Linked DNA regions of Homo sapiens: region 2 is linked to region 1. The links are contacts of gene promoters, found by promoter capture Hi-C in blood cells and fetal thymus (Javierre and others, 2016). All regions are on one chromosome and are shown on one strand. The core of a region is centred on a gene start or on the middle of the fragment in contact, and the rest is flanking DNA. Distances in the headings are between cores, read along the strand shown.

The links. Contacts are between HindIII fragments. The CHiCAGO score rates a contact against its expected background, and 5 or more counts as called.
Region 2: a fragment that was not itself captured here is called in contact with the fragment with the promoter of CORO2A in region 1 in 1 of 17 cell types (endothelial precursors); the score reaches 5.1 in endothelial precursors.

What each region holds. Positions count from the first base shown.
Region 1 is chr9:98,190,934-98,194,087 of GRCh38, reverse strand. CORO2A (coronin 2A) reads left to right here and starts at 1,451. Exons shown (of 12, transcript NM_052820.4): 1 at 1,451-1,529. RefSeq lists silencers at 1,122-1,671, 1,742-1,791 and an enhancer at 1,944-2,598. The HindIII fragment of the contact is 3,890 bases long and covers 412-3,154 here.
Region 2 is chr9:98,766,780-98,769,933 of GRCh38, reverse strand. ANKS6 (ankyrin repeat and sterile alpha motif domain containing 6) reads left to right here. Exons shown (of 15, transcript NM_173551.5): 11 at 1,684-1,853. Among named protein-coding and RNA genes, the nearest start is that of ANKS6, 28 kb to the left of the region's middle. The HindIII fragment of the contact is 3,112 bases long and covers 1-3,046 here.

The sequences.
Region 1 (3,154 bases), core at 202-2,701:
TTGAACTCTTGAGCTCAAGCAATCCACCTGCCTTGGCCTCCCAAAGTGCTGGGATTACAAGCATGAGCCACTGCGCCCAGCCATCCATATGCTTGATACCCAACTCTTGCACGCTAACACCAGAAGCATGCGTTCAGTCTACCTGCTGGGCAATCCAGCTCCAGAAGGTCTGAATCAGAGCTGTAGGATGGGGTTTTCAGGACCATAGTGCACACTGGGCTTTGGGTGGTAGGCAGGGAGCCCGTCCAGCTCTGGGCAGGGGGGTGGTACAGTGGACTATGGAAGCTGAGTCACATTCTAAGGAGAGAATCAAGAGCTCCCTAAGTACCTTGCCACTCCAAGCCTCAGTTTTCTTATCTGTAAAATGGAGGTAATAATAGTGGCTAAATAAAGCCACTATTATTAGAAGCTTAGAAGAAACGATACAGATATGTAAAGTAGTAACAGTGTACTCTGTTATCCACTCCACAACTATATATTGAGTGGTTACTATGTGCCACGGAGCAGTTCAAGGCCCTCAAGATAACCCGTCTCTACTGAACAAAACCAAGAGCTCTTCACAGACGTGGTGTGGAGTGGAGTGGCTGTTAGCTTAGTAGCCGTGGGAGCCATACTGCCTGGGGTTGCATGACTAGCCGGGTGATCTTAACCTAGGTACTTAATATCTCTGTGCCTCAGCTCTTTTGTGTTAAATAGGTGAGTAATGGTATCAACCTCATAGGCCTGTGTGACAGTGAAGCGAGGTAATGCACAGAAGGCGCTTAGAGGAGTGCGTGGCTCAGTAGTGTTAGGTGGGGGTGGTACCCAAAGGTAGGGCCTCCCCATTGTCTAGTGTCCTCAGGGCTCTCCAGCCAGCGAGGCTGGCAGCAGCGCCCCCGGCTGGTCCCGAGAGAAGGAAGGGCGTCCTCCTCGGTTCCCAGCGGCGCTCCCGGCTCCTCTCCTCCCTGCGGACGGGGAAGCCTCGGTAACCGCTGTAACTGCTCGGGGAAAGGAGCGCTTCCCTGGCCGGGCTCGGCGCGCGCACTGTACCCGGCCGGGATCGTCACATCCAGGGCTCAAACAGCCTTAAGAGGCCGACGCGGTTACTGTCTCCATTTCACAACGGGGGAAACTGAGGCTCCGGGAGGTCAGGTTCCTCATCCCACACCACGCAGCGAGGGCACGGCGCGACGTGGGGCCCGCGGCTCTGCCTGTCCCCAGCCTCCGCCTGGTGGCCGGCAGCCCGCCCCAATCACTGCGGCGTGTGCGCGCCTGTTCCCAGCACGTGTGCGCGCCCCGAGACCCGCCCCGGGGAGCCAGGAGCGCGGTCGGGGTCGTGGGGGCGGAAAAGGGTGGCCAGGGCGGACCCGCGGGGCGGGCAAAAGGGCGGACCTTGGGCCAGGCCCCCGCCCCGCCCTCCGGCCCCGCCCGCCGGGCTGCAGGGGGAGGCGGCGGCGGCTCTGGGCGCCGGGAGTCGGCGGGCGGCGAGGAGCGCGGAGCCGGAGCTGGACGCCGCCGCCGCCACCGCCACCTGCGCGGCAGTCATCAAGGTAGGGCGGCCCTGCGCCGCCGGCCGTGCCTTCCCGGTCTGCGCGATGGGGGCGTCGGGCGGGACGTGCGCGCTGCGGCTGCAGCTCCCGGAGAGGGAGGGATGCGGGGCTCGGAGCGCGGGGGACCTGGCTTTCAGCCCCTTTGCGTGACCTTGCACAAAGCACTGCTCCTCTCCAGGCCTCAGTTTCCCCGTCAGGATAGCTTGCTCATTGGTGGCCCCCTTCTCGCGGGGTTGTTGGGAGGGGCCGCCTCGAGGTCCGGGCTCCCGACGGCTCGCTGCCCTCATGAGCACTGTCTGCACCGCCCACCCCTCCTGCCCGCGGTGAGGGAAGCTCACTCTGGGCGCGGCCAGCCGGTCCCGACAGGCCCCTGCTGTGGCCCGGGTGCTCCATGGGACTCTTGTCGGGACCCTCCCCCTCTTGGCTGCGTTACCTGCTGGGCCTCAGCTTCCTGGTACAGGAAACGGTGGGGTGGGGGGCATCCCCGGGTCCCCGCCAAGCCGGCCTGGGCGTGCATGTGGGGCATCAGCCGGCCCGCCAAGAGGGTTTACTCGTCTGGGGCTGGAGGAGCCCTAGGTTGGAGGTGGCTGGACTCCTGGCGGCACGACTGCCTGGACCAGCCCCACGTAGGCACCTCGATTTAGAGAGTGGTATAGGATAGCTCCTTCCCCTTCCCCACCCGGGCCAGGTGCTGGTGCCTAGCTCTGTGTCCCAGAGCTAGTGTGTGATAAGGTGTGACACACACTAGCTGGTGTGACAAGGGGTGACTGGCGGCCACGCCTGGACCTCAGAGGGGTGACAGTGCCAAGGTGCTGTGTCCGCGTGGCATTAAGGGATGGGGCAGAGCACAGGTCTGAGGGACTGTGGTCCCAGGCTCCCTAGGTAAAGAAGACCTATGGCATCTGGCCCAGCCCCTCTGTAAGATCCCCTCTGGAAGGTCTTGCTGCCCCCTTGCACACTCCTTGTGATAGGAATCTCACTAGTTGTAAACCAAGCTGGAATCTGCTACCCAGTCACTGCCTCTCCTGCTGGTCCTGCTCTGGACACACAAACAACCTCTGACCCTTCCTCCCTCACCCTGGGGCAGTGGTCAGGTCCCTTAAATATGCTCATCTCCAGACCCAGCAGCCCCAGGCCCAGCAGTTTCTCCCATCAGATCCCAGGGAGCCAAGGCAAGAAGAGGGAGCCGAGGTGTCTGCCCTGGAGCAGGCTGTGGGGCCTCCGCTTTCCTGGGGCTTGTTCAGAACCCACCTGTGCATCAGGACTGGAATGTGTCTCCCCAGCTTCCTGCCCCTCCTGGGGACCGTCTGAGAGGTCCGGAGTGAGGAGAGCCGGAGCCCCTCTGCAGGCCTTTCCTGCCCCATGGGGCCTCTTCTCCACCTCCCTGATGCCTGCCCTGTTTGAGGGAGCAGTTTCTAGGAATCACTTCTCAGCCTCCTGGTCTTTCTTGTCCCCTTCATGACCTGCCCTGCACCCAGGGATTTTCTTAACAGCCAAAAGAGGGCAGGAGGCCCCTGGACAGGTAGTGAGCTCTTTGTCATCACAGGTATTCAAGCAGAACCTGGGGGTGAGCTACCTTGGACTGAAAGTCTATGGAATTCTAGGGCTGAAGTAGTGCCTATGAC
Region 2 (3,154 bases), core at 241-2,740, 580 kb before region 1:
ATTTTCATATATATATTTGGAAAGTGTTTTTCTATAGATTATGAATATTTATAAAAAGGCACAATAATTTATGGAGCACTTAATATTTGTCAAGTAGCGTGCCAAGCCCTTCGAATGAATTATCTCCTTCAGTGCCCCAGCAGGCAGTGAAGTTACCACCTCTGTTTTACAGATGAGGGATTGGGGCTAAGGACAGTTAGATAACTCGTCCGGGGTCAAATAGCTATTAGTTGGCAGAGCCAGGATCCAAACCCAGGCAGTCTCACTTCAGAGCCTGTTCTTGGAACCACGTGCCTTTCTAAACTATAAACTGCTCTGTAACTTGCTTTTTTCTTTTTCCTCACATTGCTAGATTGTGAGCACCTTTTTATGTTGATACATATATATCTACAGCACCTTGTTTAATAATCAAACAGTATTCCATTTGTATGAGGCATCACAGTTCATTTAACCAATTCCCTGTGTTGAACACTGAGGCTGTTCCTAGATTTTTGCTTTTTATAGGTAATACCTCCCTACGTAATACCTTCATGCCTCCATATTCACCTGTATGTTCAGTGATTTCATTTATTTAAATTTGCTGGAATCAGGGTGGCTGAGTTTGTGAGTATGCCTATTTTTGAGGTTTTTGATATGTTTTGCCCTCCAGAATGGCTCTGTTTAAACATGTGAAATACTTACAGCAGCGCCTGGCACATAGTAAATCCTCTATAAATGTTAGTCATTAGTGTCCCTCTTGAGCACCCCCCAGCCCTGGGTATTATCACTGTTTTCTTTTCTTTCTTTCTTTCTTTTTTTTTTTTTTTCTTTGAGACAGAGTCTCACTGTTGCCAGGCTGGAGTGCAGTGGTGCGATCTTCACTCACTGCAGCCTCCCCCTTCTGGGTTCAAGCGATCCTCCTCCCTCAGCCTCCCAAGTAGCTGGGATTACAGGTGCCCGCCACCACACCCAGCTAATTTTTTATATTTTTAGTAGAGACAGGGTTTCACCATGTTGGCCAGGCTGGTCTCGATCTCTACCTTGTGATCTGCCCGCCTCGGCCTCCCAAAGTGCTGGGATTACAGGCGTGAGCCACTGCACCCGGCCCCTTTATTTTATAATAGTTCAAGGTTACCAGTAGATTTGGGAAGCAGGGTGAGGGAGAATGGCAGTCAGGGTTCAGTCAGGAAGCAGAGCACTCTGAGCATTATGGAATTGGGAATTTATTGACTCAGTCGTGAGAGTAGGTGGCCACATAAAGGGAGAGTCAAAGGGTGAGGGACCAATCACTCACTAGCCCTCCTGAAGCCCTGGTGCAGCCAGACAAGACGGTCTGTGCAGCTGCTGGCCGGCTCTGCAGAGGGGCTTCTGTGGGCATCGAGTGCAGGGTGTTGCATCTGTGCCTGGTGGGGGCCGGCACAAGCTGGCTGTGGCACGGGGAAAGCGAGGATGGACTGGGTTTTGCCTTTGCTGCTGCTTCCCACCTCTTACCATTACGCCTTCGCAGCACAGAGCCTGCTGCCTAAACATCTACCTCCTGGTTCTCCTGCAGAATTCTCCTGTGGTCAGTCCTGTCCTGGAGCCACATGGGGAAGGGAGTCTGGGAGACTGGCTCCAACCCAATCATCACACGACAGTCCACCACCCTTGTGTTGGAGTAAGCCCTCTGTGCCCATGGTGTTCACTCATTTTGTGTTTCCTCAGGTGGCAGCATAGACAATGTCTTGTCCCAAATCGCTGCCCAGAGGAAAAAAGCAGCCGGATTATTGGAGCAGAAACCCAGCCATCGGTCAAGCCCTGTGGGGCCAGCACCGGGGTCCAGCCCGTCTGAGCTTCCAGCCTCCCCTGCAGGTGGCAGCGCTCCTGTTGGCAAGGTGCTTGTTTTGTGTGGCCTCCTCCTGTTACACTCACAGATTCTGTTCTAACATGGGCCACTTGCCGGGAAGCATGGGCAGTGCCTTAGTCATGGGACAGGACTAAAGACAGGCCCCTTCCAGCCAGCCACTCCTGGGCTGCATGAGAAGGGCTGAAATGGTCCTCCGCACCAGGCGTTTACCTCCCCTCACATCTCCAGGTTTGAGGGGCACTGGGCTGCTGCACAGTGGCAGGGTACACACCCACTTCCTGCAGTCCCACAGGTCACCCAGCCTCACACTGCACACATTTGTTCATTGATGAGGATGAATGGTTTAAGAGCATGAGTTGAGGAGCAACCTGCCTGGGTTCAGCTCTCAGCCCCACACCTCAGCATTTAGAACAGGGCCTGGCACAGGATAAGCTCATGTCCGTGTTGGCTGTTCCTGTTGACAGCGTTCTTAGTGGTCTTTGTTGTCCTTCAACCTTATTCATCCACTGTATACATCCTGGGAGCATCTGCTCTGTGCCTGGCACAGCTAACAGTAAGGATCCAACTGTGAACTGGGAAATTTGGCAACCGCTCTAAGGACACAGGCAGTCACAGCTCAGTGTGATAGGGGTTGTTGTGGAGCAGGAAGGATGCTGTAGGGGCACAGGTGGGGGGCCCTACCCAGGTTTGAGGGCATCAGGGCCATCTGGATGGGGATCTGAAGGATGAGAATGGAGCCAGGTAAAAGGGGTGTGGGTGGGCCAGGGGTGTTGGTGCAACTGTTCTGGTGTGAGGGAACAACTTGTGTAGCACTCCAGAGGTGACAGCGTGGCCTAAGGGAGGAGCTGAAGGAAGGACATGAGCAGGACAGAGCCGGGACCTTGTCTCCCTGCTTCTGGGCACTGTGCTTCCATTAATGCAGCCAGAGAACAGTCACCACATTGTTAGCATCTACAGATAATGCAGTAAGCAAGAAAACCTAGATGCCTTCCTGGAACAAGAAGTTTTTTAGTGTCTTCAGACTCTGCCTCTGCCTCCTGAACCTCTTTGCCTTGGTTGATTTCTGGGTGAGCCCCCAGAGTGCGGGTTCCTAGTCGTGAGTGTGAGCTGGCTCCTCCACCAAGTGACTCCCCAGTAGTGCAGCATAACCCTTTCCTCCTCTGAGGGGACTCTATGTCCAGGCAAAACCCCACTCTTCATAGTTCTTAGATGTCATAAGCTTCCTTCAGTGAGAAAAGTCCAAACACAGAAAGCCTCCCTCATCCATGGACCTTTGCCCACCAAAGAAGCGCCTCCAGAGATTTATGCTCCCAGGATGTACATGTACTG